2 separate regions of the Homo sapiens genome follow, and region 2 is linked to region 1. Evidence: promoter capture Hi-C in human tissues and cell types (Jung and others, 2019). All regions are on one chromosome and are shown on one strand. The core of a region is centred on a gene start or on the middle of the fragment in contact, and the rest is flanking DNA. Distances in the headings are between cores, read along the strand shown. Region 1 holds the start of FRAS1 (Fraser extracellular matrix complex subunit 1). Region 2 has its middle 61 kb from the start of FRAS1.

Evidence for each region. Contacts are between HindIII fragments. The study calls those that stand out against the background at their distance.
Region 2: a contact is called between a fragment that was not itself captured here and the fragment with the promoter of FRAS1 in region 1, in 1 of the 25 tissues and cell types used here (dorsolateral prefrontal cortex).

What each region holds. Positions count from the first base shown.
Region 1 is chr4:78,055,516-78,060,943 of GRCh38, reverse strand. It overlaps FRAS1 (Fraser extracellular matrix complex subunit 1), which reads right to left and starts at 3,621. Exons shown (of 74, transcript NM_025074.7): 1 at 2,859-3,621. The coding sequence starts at 2,934. RefSeq lists an enhancer at 4,064-5,035. The HindIII fragment of the contact is 7,312 bases long and covers 865-5,428 here.
Region 2 is chr4:77,994,019-77,999,295 of GRCh38, reverse strand. No RefSeq gene overlaps it. Among named protein-coding and RNA genes, the nearest start is that of FRAS1, 61 kb to the left of the region's middle. The HindIII fragment of the contact is 4,570 bases long and covers 1,738-5,277 here.

The DNA.
Region 1 (5,428 bases), core at 2,372-4,871:
GGCCAGGGGGCAGAGGCAGCAATGAGCTGAGATTGCACCACTGCACTCTAGCCTGGGTGATAGAGCAAGACTGTGCCTCAAAAAAAAAATAATAAAAATAATAAAATTTAGAACCAGAAAATTGCAATTGACCACTAATAATGCAGCAAATACTGATCTCTTTTTCTTCTATGTTTGATGATTAGCCAAAGTATCTTAGAGCTATCACGTAATGTACCTCATTTAGTAAATGACAGAACTATAGCGCAAAGAGGTTAGATGGTTCATTCAAGGTTAGTGAGCTAATCAGAGGCCAGTCCACCAGTTAAGCTTAATTCAAAATAATATAATTTGGCAATACTGTTCATCTGACCAATTTTTTGAGCACTTAGTGTATACTAGGAGCTGAACTGAAGATATCAGAATTAATAGGAGCCATCCTAACCCCTCAATAAGCACACAGCTAAGTGAGGAAGACCAAACCCATACCAACCACAATTGTTCTCTCTGTGCACTGAGAAGAAAACGACAAATTCTGCCATAAGCTGGTCAGCAAAGGTGTCACAAGGTACATCCCATCAAAAGAAGTATACATGTGAATGTCTCTTTTCTATTTTTAAAAATTATTCTCTAGGCTGATAATAAAAACTTGAGGAGATTTCTAAGATCCTTGAGGTTTCCAACCTTGATCTCAATGCTCTTATTTTTTAAAGAAAAAGAAAACCTTGAGAGGACCAAACCAGAGGTCTCATCAGATGACAAATGTTTTTTTGTCTGTGGGAGTGATATCACTTAATTAAACTAATTAAATGAGATAAAGTATGTAAAGTGCTTAGCAAAGAGCCAGGCAAACAATACCTGCTCAATAAATGGCCATGTTCATTCATTCATTCATTCATTATTAGATAAGCACCATTATGACGTGGGTGGAAACTCAGACATCTATCAATTTATCAATCCAATTTGTGAAACAGCTATAGAATGCTCTGACAGTAAAGTCAAACAATAAGAAGCAAAGTTTCCAAAGACTCTTTGGAGTAATATCCACACCCTCTCTCCGCCCCCGCCCCCGCCCCCCGTCTCTACCCCCAGCTTTCTGTGCTTCACATCCCCCCATCCCCACCTCCCAGTCTAGATTCCGCACTTCTTAAACTTGGCCCACTGGATCAAGCAATCTGCCAAAGAGCGCACCCTGCAGGCTCTTAATAATAATGCCTTTTGTTGATTTCAGAGTTTTGGTTCCGACAAGCTGCACCATTCCAACTGCCCCCTGGTGAGCTATCCGGGAGTGATAGCACGTTTCCTGCGTTGCTGGGATAGGACTCTAAATTTTAAAAACTGCCACCAAGTGAAATTAATTTTTCTAAGTACCAAGTTCAGGTTTGGGTGGCCTGGGGTGACTCTCTCATCTGGTTTATTGTTATAATCAAGCCCTACAAGCTTTTTTTTTTTTTTTCCAAAGTACGCGCCCACACGCACATAAACAATAAAGTTATATTTCTACAGGACTTGCACTGTTGGGAGAAGGCTGCACAGGCCCCAGATGTGCCTTTCGCGGAGATTATACACACTTGACACACATCCCGGAAGAGTGCAGAAGGCAGCACCTGGACCCACGGGAAAGTCCCCCACCCTTGTGCGTGGATTCCCAAGGCCTTTCTCTTGGGAAGCCAGCAAAGAAAAGGCAGCTGCTCCAGTGACTGGAGGTCGACCCGAGGCAGAGCTTTGTCCTCCCCGGGCCTCCCGCAGCCCCCAGTCCTGCGCCAGAGCTCGACTCCCGGGAGCCGCCCCGCGCCCCTTCCTAGGCACCAGGGCGGAGAAGGCGGCCCGCCCTGCGCCCGCCGCCGCCGCCCAGCCGCGGCTCTGGTTTGCGGCTGGGCAGGTGAACTCTTCTTCCCGCAGCTGGATGAATAATGAATGGAGCCGGGAGGGGAAGCCGAGAGCCAGGCGCTGTGGATTAAGCCGTCTTCCTCCCAGCCCGCCGGCTCCCTTCCCCCTCCCTAAGCACTGGCGGGGCGACTTCCCTGGCTCCTCGGAGCAGGAGGGAGCTCACAGCGCCTCGCGTCCCCAGGCCCGGCATCCCATGACCCCAAACTCTTGATTTACTTATTGACTCATTTATTTGGCTGAGCCCGGATTGCATTTGATATCATGGCGACAACTAGTCTCACGGCTTCCTTTTCTCTCCTGCGGCTCCGGGGTTTTACAGGTAGCTTGGAGCCTCGGAGGAAAACCAGGAGGCGGAGGGTGAAGTAAAAGAATGAACCTAAACTCTTATTAACCACTTTTGTTCTGGGAAGCAGGCTGGTTCGTGCTTCTCCGTACTGGAGAGATTTCTTTCAGTGCAACTGAACTGCCCACGACCAGAACACGCTCCAACCAGTTAGTTATAAAATCCTAACTGGACTTTAGGGGGAGACTAACTGAGGTAAGGAGGGCGGGAGAGCGATGGGGCTTTAAGATGAAAGACTGTATGTTTCTTAGGAACAGAAGTATTTTTAAACAGGTAAGAGCAATTGTTCGCTCCTCACCTGTGCTCCATGCAGTTGCTTTCCCTTCGGGGAAAGGTAGGTGGTGGAAAGAAAAAGGATCAGTTTCAGAGATGTCACCTCCATCGGCCACCCACCCACCCAAAAGCACTTAGGGCAGAGAGGGAGGCCGTTTCGGGGGTGTAATCCGAATACAAAACAATCAGGAGTAGGAATCTTATCAGAAAAAGCCTATTCCAGTTTCACTTCCACCTCACCCTTCCCAGAAAAACTTCCACCTCACCGAAATACCATAAAACCTGCTGAGATTTTTAAACTGCACGATCACTCACACATACACACACACACGCACACGCACACACACACACACACGCGGCACCGCTCTCTCACCTTCGGAATGATGAGGCAATACTGCAAATTCCGCCAACGCTAGGGCCAGCCCGAGCCACACTTTGAGGACACCCATCGCCGCCTCGGCACCCACGATGGAGGAGCCCAGCCTTCAGCATCCAAGAAGCGGCTCCGCCAAAACGCTGGCTCCGGCGCTTGGAACCCGGGCGCACTGAAGGTGGGGGACCGCGGGCCTTTACCTCCGGGAAAAAGAGATGGACGGGCGGAGAGCGACACTCATCAGCCCGGAGGCGCCGGAGCGGGCTGGGGTTCAATTCACTCGCTGCTCAGGCAGAGAGCGCGCCGAGTTCCCCCGCAAGGCAGGACGCCAACGTGAGCTTTGGGAGAATAAGAGGAGGCAGAGCACAGTTCTCCGCGTCAAAATCTCGCCGGAAAGTTGCTGGTCACTGGCCGATGGGATCTTCCAGCATTTCCCTCGGGCTAGACCCTTCCGATCCCGGGTCCCCGACAGTGGAAATCCTGGCTCTGGTTTGTCCGAAGCAGCTTTTTAAAGTTCGCTTGGCACCATACGTCGGCGTTGCGTCGGCACCGCGGGTCGCCGGGAGCCCCGAAAGACCCACCCACACCCACTCCTTGGTCGAGCCACCCGGCTCGGCAGACCTCATCTGCCGGGGTCCGCTCGCTGGAAACTGTGCAGCGCTGAGGGCAGCTCCGGGGACTCGCCCGCCCTGCAGCCGCACCGCACCACACCGCCTCAGGCTGCGCTCCCTGAAGCAGACTGTTCGGAAGCTTCAGAGGAAAGACTGGGGGGCGCTGCTGCTACTTTCTCGTCCCCGCCCCTCGCCTGGGTGAGGAGGGCTGCGGGGACGCGGCTTGCTGCACACCAACACCCACCTCCGCGCTGAACACCCCGGAGGAGGTCTGCAGGGTAGAGGTGCAATGATTACGGGAGTGGAAGAAGAGCCATAATTTTAATTGCACGGAGGAAAAAGCTAGCGAGGCTGGAAAAGACCCCCAAACTCAAGGCCACTCTGGCGAGAGAGCCTGGAAACGCCCAAAATACGCCGGGTCTGGACCCCGTGTTTAAAGGACACACGTTCAGCCTTCCTCTAGTCTCCCTTGCCTCCTTCCTCTCTGCTTTGCTCGGTGTGAAAATGGACCCAGAGACTCGGAGCTTTGGCGAAATTCCAGAGAGTCACGTGGGGAAAGGGAGAAGCGAGGAGGGAGGTGAGGGGAGGCCGGGAGAGCAACCTGATCCCTTTATTCATTCTGCTGGAGTTCAGATTGGCTTTGTCTGGGGAGGAATCAAAAGTGCTCATACCGGGGACGGAGGGGGTGGAGATAGGTTGCACAGTTCTTGCTCAGGCACACCGGAAGGCAGATGAACCGTGTCCACATCCCTTGTTAGGGGAGGAACCGATTCGGCGGGCTGGGGGAGCGTGTGCCCACATCAAAGGCCCTGGGGCTACCTCCCACCCCCACAGCCCGCCACTCCTGCTGAACTAAGTGCGTCCGGGGGACCTGATTGATCCTTCTTCCTCGCTCTGGGACCCTCAGGCTGTTGCATCCTGGCTTTTACCAGCAGCCCGGGAAGATCTTGGTGTGTGTGTCCTAGGCGGAGCCTGAGAGCAAATGCACCTTTCCCTTTCCCTAGGAGACTCTGTCAGTGGAACACAACGCGGTCTGGGAGCTGTGGGTCCAGCTGCGCCCCCAGATGCCAATGGCTGGGAAAGTAACATCAGGACACGGCCGACTGGGGCGCGCACTTGAAGAGCAGAGGCCTTGATTCCCCGCCAGGACTGACTGACGGCAGCTATTTTTATAGGACCGAATAAAAATAGCTGGTCCACGTTTAATCGTTTTATAAGGGAACAGTTGCATCAGAGAGATGCTGACTGGGTTCTGATTGGCCCAGAGAAGAAACGTCTCGGGTCCCTCAATTGAGTCGGGATGGGCGAAACTGTTGGAGGGGAAGCAGTTGCATGAGCTGTGCTGGCGGGGGTCCCACTTGTTTCCAGTCTTCACGAACACCATGACGCGGGCCCACGTTCTAACGTGCACTGACGCCACTTGGAACAATTCACTTTTCCGAATAACTGGAATAACTTGAAACTGGCAGGTCCCTGTCAGTGTTACTATTCAGCCAGAACAAAGGAGAACCTCTGACAACCTGGCTCTGAATCTTAAGTATTTGGAGGACCCAGGGTTTGCACATTTCGCCCTCAGTCTCTCTGTTGGGCTGTGGTCATTCTAGGGACAGAGGTTGTATCATCTTTGTATAATTGAAGCACATAGTAGGTGCTCTTTAAACATTTGTTGAAATAATGGATTAAGTGCCTGAGAGCAGCGGCCATATCAAGGGGAGCTGCGGGCCTTAACCTCCTCCCAAAAAAAGACCCCTCCCTTTTTATTTAGAAAGTAGGGCCTGTGCGGTGGCTCACGCCTGTAATCCCAGCACTTTGGGAGGCCAAGGCAGGCAGATCACGACGTCAGGAGTTCGAGACCAGCCTGGCCAACATGGTGAAACCCCATTTCCACTAAAAATACAAAAATTAGCCACGTGTGGTGGCACATGCCTTTAATCCCAGGTACTCTGAAGGCTGAGGCAC
Region 2 (5,277 bases), core at 2,773-5,272, 62 kb after region 1:
TGTTGAACTAGACATTGTTAGATATATATCTAGGACAAATGGAAGTAATAATGTACTTTGTAAAATATGAAACTATGAAACATTATTTTGTTGCACCAGAGCATTATTACAATCAGAACTCCTTCATAGACACATGATTGACCACCATTAGGACCACAAGTGAATTCAACCAATCTGAGATCAGCAATGTCCAGACTTGTCACATGCAGAGAGCTGTTTATTTATGTAAGCAATCAGAATTTAGTAATTAAACTGAGTAGTAGATGATGTTTCACTTTATAAGCAATATAAATCAATTTAGAAGTGAATTGCCAGAGATTAGGGACTAACAATAAAATAATAAAGTTATGCTAAAAAAAGTTTGAGTGGAAAAAAAATGGCATTTGATTTAGGTCATGAAAAAAACATAGTCTTCTATTGTCTTTATATTTGACTTTCTGTTTTAAGTCTTGATCGTTTTAATGGCACTACTGATGGATGGGAAGGGAAATGAATATTTATTTCTAAGTGTCTGTTATCAGTTAGGAAGCTTTCTGCAGCATAAACACAACTAAAACTGGCTCAGAGGGCCGGGCCGGGCCGGTGGCTCATGCCTATAATCCCAGCACTTTGGGAGGCCGAGGCGGGTGGATCACTTGAGGTCAGGAGTTCGAGACCCACCTGGCCAACATGGTGAAACCCCCTTTCTACTAAAAAACAACAACAACAGCAACAACAAAAATTAGCCAGGCGTGGCGGTGGGCACCTGTAATCCCAGCTACTCAGGAGGCTGCAGCAGGAGAATTGCTTGAACCTGAGAGGCGGAGGTTGCAGTGAGCCGAGATTGCGCCACTGCACTCCGACCTGGGCAACAAAAGCAAAGCTCCAGCTTGGGAAAAAAAAAAAAAAAAAAACCTGGCTCAGAGAATAAGGGAGTTTACTGAATCACATAACTAGAAAGACTAGAGAGCAAACTTTAGGGTTAGTTTGGGCCAAAGGTTTATAATATTATCATCAGGGTCATTGCTCCTTTTTTAAAAATGTTCAGTTCCCGTGGTTGTGCTCTCCTTCTTGCACTGGCTTTTTATTTAGGCTGGTTTTCCATATGGTAGCAAGGTGGCTACCCGCAGCTCCTAGGGCTAAATGCTTTCTCATTTGCACTGGGGGCAAGAAGGGGTTCCTTTCCTTCCAACCATAAAACCAAATTCTTAAGCTTCCCACTGACTGGACTTTCTCACCTCTGAAAAAAATTAGTATGGCTAAGGAAGTCACAGTAATTTTAGACCTGGGAAATGAGCCCATCTAAACCAATAACAGCCAGGCCTAGACTAGTGAGAATCCACCTCTAGAGTTAGGGGAGAACAGCCACATGGTTTCTACCCAAAGTAAGAGGGTAAAATGGATGTTGTGTGTGCAACCACAGTATTTTTTACTCTTATGTGCCAGACTGAAGCTAAACAACAGGATGGATTCACTGAGCAGTCTCCTTGGCTGCCAATCTATACAGTTTTCGCTGGAAAAGTACCTTGATGAAGAAAGTTATTCAGGGATGGCTCATGTGAGGGTTGTGTTCCTTAAGCGTTGCATAATTCCAGCCTAATTTTCCCACATGGAAAATTTTCCTAAATGGAAACTAGGGAAGGATGGATTCTCATAGCACATACATCTACTGTAATTTTTGTCTATTTTCACTTTAATAGTTGTTTTATGTTTTTTCCAAGATTATTTCTAATATTTCATAGCATGCTTTCTTCAAAATGTACAACCCAGTGTGTCAGGGTGTTTGGTCTTATTTTAGCATGTCTAGCTTCTATTCCAAAGATACTGATTTTCAGGACCATTTTCTCAGCAGCATCATTTGGACCACCTTCAAACGAATGCTCACATGGTGTTACTACTGGATACTAAAAATACTTTAAATTGTAATAGCAGTGATTTTTTAAATGAAGGCAAAAATAGTTACAGTTACAAAGTGCACAATTTTGGTGCCCTGGGTCATTTACCCTAAGCCCATTTCTCATCTCCAGTGGCAGTGGACAGTATGACATAATAAAAAAATACACATCTGATCTCTGCCTCCGGTTCCTATCACAGAGCTCCTGAAAGTAATTTCCTGAACAATAGTTTTGTTAAGTGAATATCTTTTCTCTAATATTTGGTCCTTGACCCTGCTTTCTAACACAGAGCTCTTAATACCTTGGAATTTTCTGGGTGGTGGGAATGTGTTTTGTTCTAATGAGGCAAACGTTGGTGGGCTCCTGGGTGGAGGCTGGTCATCAGAAAGACCAAACCAGAATTAGAAGCTTGAATCTTTCAACCTCAACCCCCATCCTCTGGGCAGGAAACAGGCGCTAGAAACTGAGTTAATAACCAATCATCCCTACATATTAAAGCCTGCATAAAAATCTCTAAACTACAGGATTTGGGGAGCTTCAGGGTAGGTGACCATGTGGAGGTCCTGGGAGGGTGGTGTGCCCGCAGCGGGCATAGAAGCTCCGTACTCCTTCTCCATCCCTTGCCCTATGCATCCCTTCCATCTGATTGTTCCTGAGTTGTGTCTTCTATAATCAACCAGTAATCTAGGAAGTAAACTTTTTTCCTGTGTTTTGTGTGCTAGTCTAGCAAACGATTCACCTAGGGAGGGGTTGTGGAGAGCCTGATTTATAGTTGGCTGGTCAGAACCATGAGTGACAACCTGGACTTGGGATTGGCATCTGAATTGGGAGCAATTTTGTGGGATTAAATCCTTGACCTGTGAAATCTGATGCTAACTCTGGTTAGTGTCCGAACTGTAGGAGCTGATGCTAAGTCTGATGAGTGTCCGAATTGAATTGAATGCTAGGATACCTGGTTGGTGTCTGCAGAGAATTGGAGAACTACTTGGCGTGGGAAACTTTACACACAGGCACACACACACACACACACACACACAGTATCAGAAGTGAAGTATTGAGAGTGCAAATAAAGAGAAAAACAGTGAGTTTTTTCTACACAGACAGTCTCACATCAAACATTACCATGGGTCTTTTCATTTTCTGCCCCGGGGCCTTCTTTGAAATCTGAAGCCACAGGTACCACTTGGCCCATAGGCAAACAAAGCCAGGAAGTGTAGTAGGTGTTCGATCAATACATGCTGAATGATTGAATGGTAGAATATAACAGATTACCATTAAACTGCCTTGTCAGTAGATGAGCACAGCAAGGAGCACATATATTTGGAACCTGAATTACTTGGGACATAACAGTACTGTCCAGTAGAGCTTTCTGCATATCAGTGCTGTGTAATACAATAACCACTACCCACAGGTGGCTATTTAGCACTTGAAATGTAGCTGGTATGAGTAGCTGGTAAATAACCAATTTTTAAATTGAATTTTGTTTTAATCAATTTGTAGTTAAAGAGCCAAGTGTGTCTAATGGCTACCATTTTAGATAGCATAGGATAGGACATGCCAACTGCTGTCACAAAAGTCCTCTTACTCCTTGCCACACTTAGCCTAAAAAGTATTTATTTAGTAACGGTTTGTGGGTGCACAAAATTATTAGCCTACCTGGGAAACCCGCATGGCTTGGAGCAGCCCCAAAATTATACTGCAAGCCTTTTTTTCTTCTCAAAGTCAAGGTCTAGCAAAAACAGGCAGGTGGAATCAAAAAGTTGTTCCTTGTATGGAACTCCTTGGCTTGTGTTTATGATGAGGTTTGAGCACAGACTTTCACTGCTGTGTTTCTCTGTGTTGGCGCAGACAGGTAGAGGAGAACGTAACTTAGAAATGCATGTCACAGTTTAAATCCAGCCCATTCAGATTCATCTACATTTAAATAAGAAAAAAAGTGCTGCTTTTAAACAACCATTCATGTCTAGGAAAACATCTTTGAATCCTCTAATTTATTATTTGAAAAAGTCCCTTTCACTAGGAAGAAAAAGAAATATATGTTTTATGTAATTGTCAGTGTGCAGGTTGCAAAGACTGAACCTCTGGTTTCAAAGAAGTTTCTAAACTTGGTAAGCCCTGCTTCCCATCACTAAAATAAAAAATGCTTTATGTGCACACACCTTGTTCTGTATGGTTTAACAGATAGGTCACAGGCGGGCGTCAGGTGCTCAGGGGTTCTATTCTCAGCTCTCTCACTGACTCAGCCTTTGACCTCAGAAAAGCTGGGTTAGATTTAGACCAAAGGCTCCACAGAGCACAGTTGGAATGTGTGCATCCTGTGGGTTTTGCTCCTTTTCTGGAAACTCACAGCAGCACTTTAGATTCTGCTTTGATGGAACGGGTCAGGGTACAGCCATACACCATCTTGACCAGTTCCCCAGGCTTTCCAGGGACTACCTTCCCCTTTCTTCTCTTCCACATTCCTCTCTCTCCCCACGCTACTTTTCCATGATGACTGTGGCATCATTTTAGATCTTGGGGTCACAGATAAATGCAGGCAGGTGAGCCTCATATATACTCTTATTACTTAAACCTGCTTGAAGCAGTTGAGCACATTGGTGGGTTGGTTTGTTTGTTTGTTTGTTCGAAGCAGAGGATTTGATCCCTGCACAACTGCAGTTGCCCCAAGAGCACAATGACACTTTATGTTCCAGACCCAAATAGTCAGTTTCACTGCACTCCCCACAGTCCCTCATACCTAGATTCCAACTTGCATCTGTGTATCAAGGCTTCCTCTCCTGGGACCCCTTGTGGATGAAATCTGCTATAGGTTCCAAGCTTGCAGGTTTAGTTGTTATAGCTCTTTAGAGGTCCTAGGGAACTGAAAAAAAAAGCAAAGGCCAGTGTGGCTGACAGCTACTGGGGAGATTCTGCCATCCTTGTGCAGTCCAAGAACAACATGATACCTCAAGCTGATTTCCAAGGGCACATTTTTTAGATTTAGATTTTATGACTATGGCTTTTACTCTGGGTGAAATGAGTTGCTACTGGAGGATTTTGAGCAGAGGAATGACAGATTAGACTTAACTTTTAAAGGCTCCCTCTGGCTGCTGGATTTGGATCTCTGAATATTACTCAACCCTGCATTTTCCATTGCTGTGTTCCTGGCAATAAACTTTATGCTTGCTCTGCCTGCTGGGTTCACTTCCTCTCCCTCACAACCTACAACAGGCTCTGCTCTTCTATCTCTGCTTCTAGACTCGACCTTAGTCAGGGAGGCAGCTCTACCTCCTGACCCAAGCATCACTCTTCTGGCCATGCTGCTGCAGTGAACAGAACCAATGTAGCTGATTCCTTATCATCAACAATGTGTTAATACTTTATCATCTGAAATCAGTATTGAGCTCTGTATTTATTGAACTTG